2 separate regions of the Homo sapiens genome follow, and region 2 is linked to region 1. Evidence: promoter capture Hi-C in human tissues and cell types (Jung and others, 2019). All regions are on one chromosome and are shown on one strand. The core of a region is centred on a gene start or on the middle of the fragment in contact, and the rest is flanking DNA. Distances in the headings are between cores, read along the strand shown.

Region 1 (5,709 bases), core at 1,418-3,917:
GGCAGGTGCTGCGGCCTGCGACCACCTGAGCCAGGCAGGTGATGCTAATGCGCCTCAGGGCAGCCCTGGCACTGGAGCTGCTATCATCCCACTGTACCCATGGGGAGAGCCGCTCTCCTCCCTCCTTTTTCCATTCTGTGTTATTTACAGAGCACCCTCCTGTATGCCCTGCACTACTCTCAACCCTGGGTACACAGATGGGGCTGCCACAGACGTGGCCCTCAAGGCGCTCAGGCCGCCTTTTGGGGAGGGCCGTGAGGGGCTGGAATTTTTCTGAGACAGCCAAGCGCCCGTGCAGAGAGGCCTGTATCAGCCCAGCCTAAGGCAGGGCCAACCCACACAGGAGCACCTGTCCTGCTGGGGATGCAGTGGGTTCTGCTGTGTCCTGGAAAAGGCTCTACCCACACCCTAACCCAACCTGTGAACGCGCGCTCATTTGGAAAAGGGGCTTTTGCTTTGATGTAATTAGGGAAAGGATCTTGAGATGGCTCATCCTGGGTTAAGGCAGGTCCCACGTCCTGAGAAGGGGGGAGGGATTATCTTTTAGACTGGGCCCTACATCCAACAACCAGTGTCCTTATAAACCACAGAAGAGGAAAAGGCGGGTGCAGCAGAGAGGCCACGGGAGGAGCCGCCAGCCCGGGAAACTGAGGGCTGGAAGAGCCTCCAGGAGGACCCAGCCCTGAACACGCCCAGCTCCACGGCCTCGTGGAATAAACTTCTCCCATTTCACACCCCCCAGTTTGTGGTGCATGGTTAGCACAGCCCTAGGAAACCAGCACGGATAGTGAGCTCCCCGTCACAGGAGGTATGCAAGCAGAGGGTGGGTGGGCAGGGGCACTGTCGGGAGGAGCAGCCCTGGGGACTCCAGCAATCTGTCTTTGATTCCTCCCAGACTGTTAACCCTGGGGCACAGCCTCCTTCACCCCCAGAGGCCCACAGCAGACAAGCTGAGAGCCACACAGCGGCCAAGAGGAGGTGCTGGAGGGCCCAGGGGTCCCAGTGCTGCCTCAGCCCCACCCGACTTGGGAGCTTTTGTGTTCAGAGAGACTGAGGTTTTCAGCTTAGAGGACACCTCCGTGGAACACATCTGCACCGCGGCAGGGGAGGAAAGGCTGGGGGCACACAAGCACCCTCCCTCCCGCCCTCACCCCGAAGCTGAGGGGACCAGGGCGGACAGATTCCCCCACCTCTGATGTGGCCAGGGGCCCTGGGGACTCCAGGACAACCCTCCTCAGGATGACGTCAAACCCCCGGCATTCAAACCTTCCCAAGTTCTGGCTGCAGCTGTCCCTTTCCGGGGAAACAAAGGCACCTCCAGCGCCCCCACCCCCAGCCAGCCTCACCGATCAAGGAGGCCAAAGGCAGCTCCCGGCCCCGCTTACATAAAGCTTCCTGTGTGTGCTGGTCACACCTCACACCTCACGCCTCACGCCTCATGCCTCATTCACACCTCACACCTCACTCCTCACACCTCCAACTCAGACTTTTTAGCTTGAACTTTTTTCTCAATAAAACCACAGAAGCCCAGGCCGGGTGCAGTGACTCATGCCTGTGATCCCAGCACTTTGCGAGGCCGAGGTGGGCAGATCACGAGGTCAGGAGATCGAGACCATCCTGGCTAACATGGTGAAACCCCGTCTCTACTAAAAATACAAAAAAATTAGCCAGGTGTGGTGGCGGGCGCCTGTAGTCCCAGCTACCCGGCAGGCTGAGGCAGGAGAATGGCGTGAACCCAGGAAGCTGAGCTTGTAGTGAGCCGAGATCGCACCACTGTACTCCCCGCCTGGGCGACAGAGTCAGACTCCGCCTCAAAAAAACAACAAAAAAAAAAACAACACAGAAACCCAACAGAGACCTGAAGACGTGCCTGCCTCCCCCATCTCCGGGACCTCTCCCACCTGGGTGAAGGGGGCACGTGAGCCTCACCTGATCTTGACCATCTCAGCTAAAACACTGAACCACCCTTGGCACCCACCAGCAGCAGACGGAGAAGAACTGTATAGGGTGCAAAAGCGCCCCGCCACCATCAGGTCCAGATGAAAACCTACAAGTTGAATCAGCAAGGTGCTGACGGATACGCAAGCAGAAACCCTCTTATAGGAGGTTCAAGGCTGGGCGCAGTGGCTCACTCCTGTAATCCCAGCACTTTGGGAGGCCAAGGCGAGCAGATCACTTGAGGTCAGGAGCCTCAGACCAGCCTGGCCGATATGGCAAAACCCTGTCTGTACTAAAAATACAAAAATTAGCCAGGCATGGTGGGGGGTGCCTGTAATCCCAGCTACTCGGAAGCCTGAGGCAGGAGAATCGCTTGAACCTGGGATGTGGAGGTTGCAGTGAGCTGGGACAGCACCATTTCCCTCCAGCTCGGGTGACAGCAAGACCCTGTCTCAAAAAAAAAAAAAAAGTTTGAGAATGTCAGACAAGGCAGCACCCTGTGTAGGTGCTCAGGTTGGGCGGAGTCTCTCTCGGGGGAGGGGGGTAACAGGACAGCGCCTCCCGGGGCCTCCTTGCATGTCTGTGTCCTGATGCACAGCAGGCGGGGGCTGCGGGGACCAGAGAAGGAAGAAGCGCCCCAGCTGGGCACTTCCCGAGGAGGAAGTGGTGCCGGAATTTCCCCCAGGTGTGGCCTCAGGTATAAGAGCGGCTGCTGCCAGGTGCATGGCCAGGTGCACCTGTGGGATTGCCGCCAGGTGTGCAGGCCGCTCCAAGCCCAGCCTGCCCCGCTGCCGCCACCATGACGGTGAGCCTCTCCACATGCCGCTCGGATGGATGCTGCTTGGATGTGCAGCCTGGCATGGAAGGGCTGGGGTTCTCTGAGCCTGGGAGGAGGGTGTTGGGATGGGGTCTGGGAAACCCCTCAGTCTGGGGGTAGGGGAGGCAGCTGCAGATCCTCGGAGCGCTGGCATGCTGGGTGTCTTGGGCTGAAGGGCTAGCCTCTCTGGGCTTCAGTTTCCCCATCTATAGAGGGAGGGCTGTACTCCATCTTTCCGCTGGGAACAAGGAAAGCTGAGGTGGAAGTGAGGTGCCCCCTGCCCTGGGCACCTCCTAACCACCCACCTGCCTGTTTCACCAGCTCCTCCCCGGCCTCCTGTTTCTGACCTGGCTGCACACATGCCTGGCCCACCATGACCCCTCCCTCAGGGGGCACCCCCACAGTCACGGTACCCCACACTGCTACTCGGCTGAGGAACTGCCCCTCGGCCAGGCCCCCCCACACCTGCTGGCTCGAGGTGCCAAGTGGGGGCAGGCTTTGCCTGTAGCCCTGGTGTCCAGCCTGGAGGCAGCAAGCCACAGGGGGAGGCACGAGAGGCCCTCAGCTACGACCCAGTGCCCGGTGCTGCGGCCGGAGGAGGTGTTGGAGGCAGACACCCACCAGCGCTCCATCTCACCCTGGAGATACCGGTGAGGACCTGGGGATTCCGCTGTGGCGTGGGGCTGCCCCTCCCCTGGCGGGGCCCTGACTGCCCGGAGAGCTCTCTGGGCCTTGGTGGTTCTCACCTGTCAAGTGGGCGTGGCCACCTGAGCTCCCTCCCTCCGGCCCTCCTGACCTGGACGGCTGAGCTGCTGCTTGCGGCTGGCCGTGCCCTGCCTCCCACTGTCCTAGGTGGCCAGGGTCCCCTGGGGAAATTCTGGGCCCGTCACCTGAGCTCCTGCAGAAGTGGGGCTGGGTGATGAAGTGGAAGGGAGGCTCCTAGAGGCCTCCGGACCCTGCTCTGTGCTCTTGGAGGGCCCTGGGGAGACGTGGATTACCACCACATGTGAGCCCGACTGCACCCCAAGCCCGTGTGGCTCAGCCCTCGCTGCCTCAGGTCCTATCCTGAGTACACGGAGAGGGGCCCTGAGGGGAGAGGGGCCTCCAGGAGGACAGGGTAGGGCCAGAGACTCACTGTGCACCCCGTCCCGCAGTGTGGACACGGATGAGGACCGCTATCCACAGAAGCTGGCCTTCGCCGAGTGCCTGTGCAGAGGCTGTATCGATGCACGGACGGGCCGCGAGACAGCTGCGCTCAACTCCGTGCGGCTGCTCCAGAGCCTGCTGGTGCTGCGCCGCCGGCCCTGCTCCCGCGACGGCTCGGGGCTCCCCACACCTGGGGCCTTTGCCTTCCACACCGAGTTCATCCACGTCCCCGTCGGCTGCACCTGCGTGCTGCCCCGTTCAGTGTGACCGCCGAGGCCGTGGGGCCCCTAGACTGGACACGTGTGCTCCCCAGAGGGCACCCCCTATTTATGTGTATTTATTGTTATTTATATGCCTCCCCCAACACTACCCTTGGGGTCTGGGCATTCCCCGTGTCTGGAGGACAGCCCCCCACTGTTCTCCTCATCTCCAGCCTCAGTAGTTGGGGGTAGAAGGAGCTCAGCACCTCTTCCAGCCCTTAAAGCTGCAGAAAAGGTGTCACACGGCTGCCTGTACCTTGGCTCCCTGTCCTGCTCCCGGCTTCCCTTACCCTATCACTGGCCTCAGGCCCCCGCAGGCTGCCTCTTCCCAACCTCCTTGGAAGTACCCCTGTTTCTTAAACAATTATTTAAGTGTACGTGTATTATTAAACTGATGAACACATCCCCAGAGGCCAACATTCAATGCGACATTCTCCCGTTCAGCCCTGGTCCAGGCCAGCCATGGACCCAATTCTGGGGTGTCCTTCCAGAAAGGTCTACGCAGCCGCGAGCAGTGCATGCAGGTGGGACTGAGCTGTAGCACGGGGGGGTCACAGGTGTCCCTGCTCTGCCCACACAGTGTCTCCCCTGAGGACACCCCTGGGAACAGGAACCAGCCTCCTTCCTCAAGCAGTGCCTTGAGCCCTATGCTTTGTAATGATGTGAGCGCCTAGGGGCACCCTCTCGGCCCCCAAGGCAAGTCTCTGAGGATGAACTGCAGGGCTGTCGGCTCAAGGCAGGGCCCCCAGCCTTCGTGGTTCGGATCAACATCCAAGGCCAAGCGCCCTCCCTGATGGTGAACTAGCCACGCTTCGGGACCCAGGCTCTGTTGGAGATTTTAGTTAAGGGGCCCCGGGGGGAGCAGCCCCAGTCGTGGAAAGGGGGCCCAGGCCTGTGACAGTCTCAGGGTCTCAGTCTCTAGGCCCCCGGCCCCAAGGGCTGACATTGCCATGGGGCTGCTGGGCAGTTGTTAGCCCCTCCCCTGCCTGGCCCCCTGGCTCACCCACCTACTGCGTCCAGGTGCCTGGAGATGGGGGTGGGGGTGCTGCACAGAAGAACAAGGACTCCACTCAGACTCCCAAAGCAAGAGGCCTCAGGGAAGACTTCCTGGAGGTGGTGGCCCTTGTCCAGGAGATGGAATTTTCATTCAACACATTTATTGAGTTTCTTTTCTTTCTTGAAAAAGGGTCTCGCTCTGTTGCCCAGGCTGGAGTGCAGTGTGGTATGACTTCAGCTCACTGCCACCCCCACCTTCTGAGTTCAAGCGATCCTCCCAGCTCAGCTTCCCAGTACAGGCGTGCACCACCACACCCAACTCATATTTGTATTTTTAGTGGAGGCGGGGTTTCGCCATGTTGGCCAGGTTGGTCTCGAACTCCTGAGCTCAAGTGATCCTCCCACCTCGGCCTCCCAGAGTGCTGGGATTACAGGCGTGAGCCACCGCACCCAGCCATATGAGTTTCTACTAAGCACCTGGCACTGGGAACAGGCCGAGAACAAAATGGTGAAAACCCTTCCTGCCTCCACGGTGACTAATGAAACAAGTGG
Region 2 (5,677 bases), core at 2,213-4,712, 210 kb after region 1:
CTCACTGGAAACTGGAGCCCTCACACACCATGTAAGAACGTGACACGCAGCACCTGGTGAGAGGTCCGGCAGCGCCACGCAGGGTGGCCACGCCGCCCGGCAGCGCCTCCCTGGTACACGCCCAACAGAACTGAAAAGTGTGTCCACGTGGAAACCTGTGCATGAACCAACACCCACAGCGGCTCGCTCCCTGGCAGCCAAGCTGGAAACACCCGGATGCCCATCCATGGGTGGAAGCCTCAGCCACACGTGGTCCCTCCACACTGTGGACCATGACTCAGCCACGAAAAGGAATGGAGTCCTCACACAGGCTGTGTGTGTGAAGCCCAAAAACCCTGTGTGAGGGGAAAATAGACACAAGGCCCATGAGCCGTAAGATTCCATTCACCGGACACGTCAGAAAAGGCAGATCCTTAGAGACAGAAAGGGGAGCGGGTCGGCCAGGGGCTTCGGGGAGCACAAGGGAGTGACCCCCATCAGGGCTGGGGCTTCCTTCCGTGGTGACAAAGATGATGTGACGATGTGTGGTGGCAGGACGACTCTGAGAACACACTAAAAATGACCCGCACACTTTCACCAGCGAATTCCGTCTCAGTAAAGCGGCTATAAAAGAATGAAAGGCCGGGCGCGGTGGTTCACGCCTGTAATCCCAGCACTTTGGGAGGCCGAGGCAGGTGGATCACGAGGTGGTCAGGAGATCGAGACCATCCTTGCTAACACAGTGAAACCCCGTCTCTACCAAAAATACAAAAAATTAGCCAGGCGTGGTTGCAGGCGCCTGTGGTCCCAGCTACTCGGGAGGCTGAGGCAGGACAGCCTGGGTGACAGTGAGACTCCGTCTGAAAAAAAAAAAAAAAGGAAGTGCGGGCATCCTGGTTTTCTGCAGATGGACCAGGGGCTCCCCTGACACTGCTGGGTCGGGGCCGGTGGGCGTTTGACTCGCTGGGTCCTGGTAAGTCAAAGAAGCAGCAGCCTCGGGGCCTGTGTGAAGTGACAGGGGTCTGAACAGAGGGGAAGCCCTCACCGGGGGCGGGGGTGGCAGCGTGCTGACTGGGAACGGCTGCTGGAGGGATGGGCGCTGGGCCCCGGGGACCGCGGGAGGACAGTGGGCCGCTCTGGGCGCACGTGGGTGGCTGGACATCCAGGTCTGCGTGGTCACACCTTGGTCTTTGTCTGGATGCAATGATCCATTTCCCCGGTGGACGGCAGGCTACATGGCCCCTGCCTGTAAGGCTCAGCTTGGCAGGGTGGCCGCTCCTTGCCTCAGCCCCTCCTAACGTGTGGAGTCCCAGAGCTGGGCCAGGTCTGGGCTTTTTCCTCTCAAAGGCCCTCCATGTCTCATGGGACACAATTCTGTTTGGCCCTTTTAGCTTTGGATCCCTTTTGAGATGGTTTATTTTTTTGAGACAGGGTCTCACTCTGACAAACAGGCTGAAGTACAGTGGCGCGATCTTGGCTCACTGCAACCTCTGCCTTCCGGGCTCAGGTGATCCTCCCACCTCAGCCTCCTGAGTAGCTGGGACTACAGGCACATGCCACCATGCCCAGTTAATTATTATTATCATTATTTTTTGAGATGGAGTCTCACTCTGTCACCCAGGTTGGAGTGCAGTGGCGTGGTCTTGGCTCACTGCAACCTCCGGCTCTTGGGTTCAAGCAATTCGCCTGCCTCAGCCTCCTGAGTAGCTGGAATTATAGGCACCCACCACCAAGCTCATCTAATTTTTGTATTTTTTTTATAGAGATGGGGTTTCACCATGTTGGCCAGGCTGGTCTTGAATACTGACCTCAGGTGATCCACCTGCCTCAGCCTCCCAAAGTGCTGGGATTACAGGTGTGAACCACCGTGTCAGGCCAACTTTTTTGTATTTTTGGTAGAGATGGAGTTTTGCCACGTTGCCCAGGCTGGTCTTGAGTGAACTGAGCTCAAGCAGTCCACCCGCCTCCACCTCCCAAAGTGCTGAGATCCCAGGTGTGAGCCACCACGCCCAGCCCTGAGATGGTTTATTTTGAAGTCACTGAAATGGCTTTTCTGAGGACAATGGAGGCTGGAATGAAAGGAGGACCTAGAGAGAGGTGTCCCCTGAAGCTGATGAGGAAGAAAGGGAGGTGGGAGGACAGGGGGCAGGACGCCCGCAGAGCTGCTCATGGGCTGAGAAGGGACCTTGGGCTCAGTGGCACCTAGTCACAGTGGGCGAATGCGCCCATGTCAGGGTGAGGTGCATCCCACTGAGGCAGCAGAAACCTGCAGTGCAGGCTGGGACGGTACAGCTCCCTGAGGCCAGCCTGAGGGGGACTGGCCACACACGCCCAAAGCTCCTTGCCCTCCACCTCCCCGAGTGCAGATTCATCCTCTCAGGTGGCTTCTGCACTTCCTGCTGTCTCCAGTCCAGGTGGGAGAGTACAGAATGGCAGGTGGGCCGGGGGCACAAGGCCTGGGATGGGAGGGAGCAGTATGTTTCGCCCGTTACACTGTCTGCCCATGCCCAGGACCACTGCTGGGCTCCCTTCGGGCTGGGAGTGAGGCCGCACATCTGAATACTGGGTGCCATGTGCCCGACCCTCCCTGCAGGCTGCGTCCTGAGGCTTCCCGAGGCGGGTCTGGCCTCCCCAGAAGGTCGGCAGTCAGCAGAGCTGCGTCCGGATCTGCTTGTGCTCACCTGGGTCATCCTCCTACCTGTTCCAGGCCACAAATAACATGAATGGATGCAGCGGAAAATGCTGTAAAGGGAGTGGGCTCCACGCTCATCACTCACCAGAAAATACTGCGGGGAGGAGTCCCAGGGCTTGAGGGAGGGGGCTCCACGCTCACCACTGACTCAGAAGATACCGCAAGGGAGCACTCTCGCTGGGAGGAGTCCCAGGTCTTGGCGACAGTCCTACTCACTGCCATGACTTACAACGGGGAGGGCATCAGCCAGGGGAGAAGGTGCGGGCGGGGCCGGGGAGACCAGCCGCAGCGTGGAACCCTCCCCAGGCGGAGCCACACGGGACGCTCGGGCTGCGAGCACAGGTGCGGGATGCTGACGGGGAAGCTGTGCGAGACTCAGTTCCCAGGGCTTTTGCCTAGGCTGGCAGTGCGGCCGCCTCTGCCTGGCATGTGCCGAGACTCTTTATGCCCAGAAGGAGGATGCTGGGCATAAATCGTGGCATGTGCAAAAACAGTGTGGCAAGGTGAGCTGCTCCTATCAGCGAACAGCGGGGGGACCTCCTGTTCCCAGACGCCAGCCGAGGGCAAAAACCTCCCACACATGTGCCTTCTGACCAGCCGAGGGCAACGTCCCACACGTGGGCCTTCTGAGGACAGCGTCCCAGGCTGCTGGGCCAGCTCTCATCTGCTGACCCTGTTCTTTCATTATTTATCGGCGCCTTTCTTGGCTATGAAAAGCAGGTGTGGACAGCCTCCCTGCAGAGTGAGCAGGTTACCATTGAACATCTAAAACCCCCACAGGGCACCACGGGCAGGAACCACCTTTCTTCTCTCCCTTAAAAGTCCTAAAAGGGCTGGATCCAGTGGTTCACGTCTGTTATCCCAACACTTTGGGAGGCTGAGGAGGGAGGATCGCTTGAGCTCAGGAAGTCAAGACCAACCTGGGTCTCACAGACAGACACTGTCACTAAAAAAAACTTTTTTTTTAATTAGCCGGGTGTGGGGATTCCGTTCCAACATGGCTGAATAGGAACAGCTCCGGGCTGCAGCTCCCAGCGTGATTGACGCAGAAGACGGCGATTTCTGCATTTCCAACTGAGGTGCCTGGTTCATCCTACTGGGACTGGTTGGACAGTGAGTGCAGCCCATGGAGGGTGAGCCGAAGCAGGGTGGGGCATCGCCTCACTCAGGAAGTGCGAGGGGTTGGGGGATTTCCCTTTCCTAGCCAAGGGAAGCCGTGACAGACTGCACCTGGAAAATCAGGACACTCCCGCCCAAATAGTGCGCTTTTCCAACGGTCTTAGCTAACGACACACCAGGAGATTATATCCCGGGCCTGGCTCGGAGGGTCTCATGCCCACGGAGCCTTGCTCACTGCTAGCACAGCAGTCTGAGATCCACCTGCGAGGTGGCAGCCTGCCTGGGGAGGGGCGTCCGCCATTGCTGAGGCTTGAGTAGGTAAACAAAGCGGCAGGGAAGCTCGAACCGGGCAGAGCCCACCGCAGCTCTGCAAAGCCTGCTGCCTCTGTAGACCCCACCTCTAGGAGCAGGGAATAGCTGAACAAAAGGCAGCAGAAACTTCGGCAGACTTAAACGTCCCCGTCTGACAGCTCTGAAGAGAGCAGTGGTTCTCCCGGCACAGTGTTTGAGCTCTGAGAACGGACACATTGCCTCCTCAAGTGGGTCCCTGACCCCCGTGTAGCCTAACTGGGAGATACTTCCCAGTAGGGGCCCACTGACACCTCATACAGGCAGGTGCCCCTCTGGGACAAAGCTTCCAGAAGAAGGATCAGGCAGCAATATTTACTATTCTGCAATAGTTGCTGTTCTGCAGCCTCCACTGGTGATACCCAGGCAAACAGGGTCTGGAGTGGACCTTCAGCAAACTCCAACAGACCTGCAGCTGAGGGACCTGACTCTTATAAGGAAAATTAACAAACAGAAAGGAATAGCATCAACATCAACAAAAAGGACATCTACGCCAAAACCCCATCTTTAGGCCACCAGCATCAAAGACCAAAGGCAGATAAAACCACAAAGATGGGGAGAAACCAGAGCAGAAAAGCTGAAAATTCTAAAAACCAGAGCACCTCTTCTCCTCCAAAGGATCGCAGCTCCTCGCCAGCAAGGGAACAAAGCTGGACAGAGAATGACTCTGACGAGCTGACAGAAGTAGGCTTCAGAAAGTCGGTAATAACCAACTTCTCCGAACTAGAGGAAGATGTTTGAATCCATGGTAAGGAAGCTAAAAACCTTGAAAAAAGATGAGACGAATGGCTAACTAGAATCAACAGTGTAGAGAAGACCTTAGATGACCTGATGGAGCTGAAAACCATGGCACCAGAACTACGTGACGCATGCACAAGCTTCAGTAGCCGATTCGATCTAGTGGAAGAAAGGGTATCAGTGATTGAAGATCAAATTAATTAGCCGAGTGTGGTGATGGGCGGCTATAATCCCAGCTACTCAGGAGGCTGAGGCAGGAAAATTGCTTGAGCCCAGTAGTTTGAGGCTGCAGTGAGCTGTGATCGAGCTACTGCACTCCAGCCTGGGTGACAGAGCCAGACCTTGTCTCAAAAAAAAAGTCCTGGCTGGGTGTGGTGGCTCATGCCTGTAATCCCAGCACTTTGGGAGGCTGAGGCAGGCAGATCACCTGAGGTCAGGAGTTTCAGGCCAGACTGGCCAATATGGTGAAACCCCGTCTCCACTAGAAATACAAAAATTAGCTGGGCACGGTGGTGGGAGCCTGTAGTCCCAGCTACTCGGGAGGCTGAGGCAGGAGAATTGCTTGAACCTGGGAGACGGAGGTTGCAGTGAGCTGAGATCACACCACTGCAATCCAGCCTGGGTGACCAGAGTGAGACTCCATCTCAAAAAAAAAAAAAAAAAAAAAAAAGGCCTAAAAGCCCCCAAATGATTGTCCACGTTCAGCGAGCACAGCTGTGAGCCATGGATCAGTATCCTTCAGAATTTCAGAGTTTTAAGAAACGCAGTTTCCATTCCTACTGGTTGCTATGGGATTATTAT

The links. Contacts are between HindIII fragments. The study calls those that stand out against the background at their distance.
Region 2: a contact is called between a fragment that was not itself captured here and the fragment with the promoter of IL17C in region 1, in 2 of the 25 tissues and cell types used here (aorta and mesenchymal stem cells).

What each region holds. Positions count from the first base shown.
Region 1 is chr16:88,635,905-88,641,613 of GRCh38, forward strand. It overlaps IL17C (interleukin 17C), which reads left to right and starts at 2,668. Exons shown (of 3, transcript NM_013278.4): 1 at 2,668-2,743; 2 at 3,077-3,405; 3 at 3,910-4,564. The coding sequence starts at 2,738. The coding sequence ends at 4,168. It overlaps LOC124903755 (a long non-coding RNA gene), which reads left to right. Exons shown (of 2, transcript XR_007065181.1): 1 at 1-808; 2 at 896-1,530. RefSeq lists an enhancer at 4,713-5,540. The HindIII fragment of the contact is 16,303 bases long and covers 1-5,709 here.
Region 2 is chr16:88,847,730-88,853,406 of GRCh38, forward strand. All of the region lies in intron 1 of GALNS (galactosamine (N-acetyl)-6-sulfatase), which reads right to left. Among named protein-coding and RNA genes, the nearest start is that of GALNS, 6.4 kb to the right of the region's middle. RefSeq lists an enhancer at 2,445-2,614. The HindIII fragment of the contact is 6,360 bases long and covers 283-5,677 here.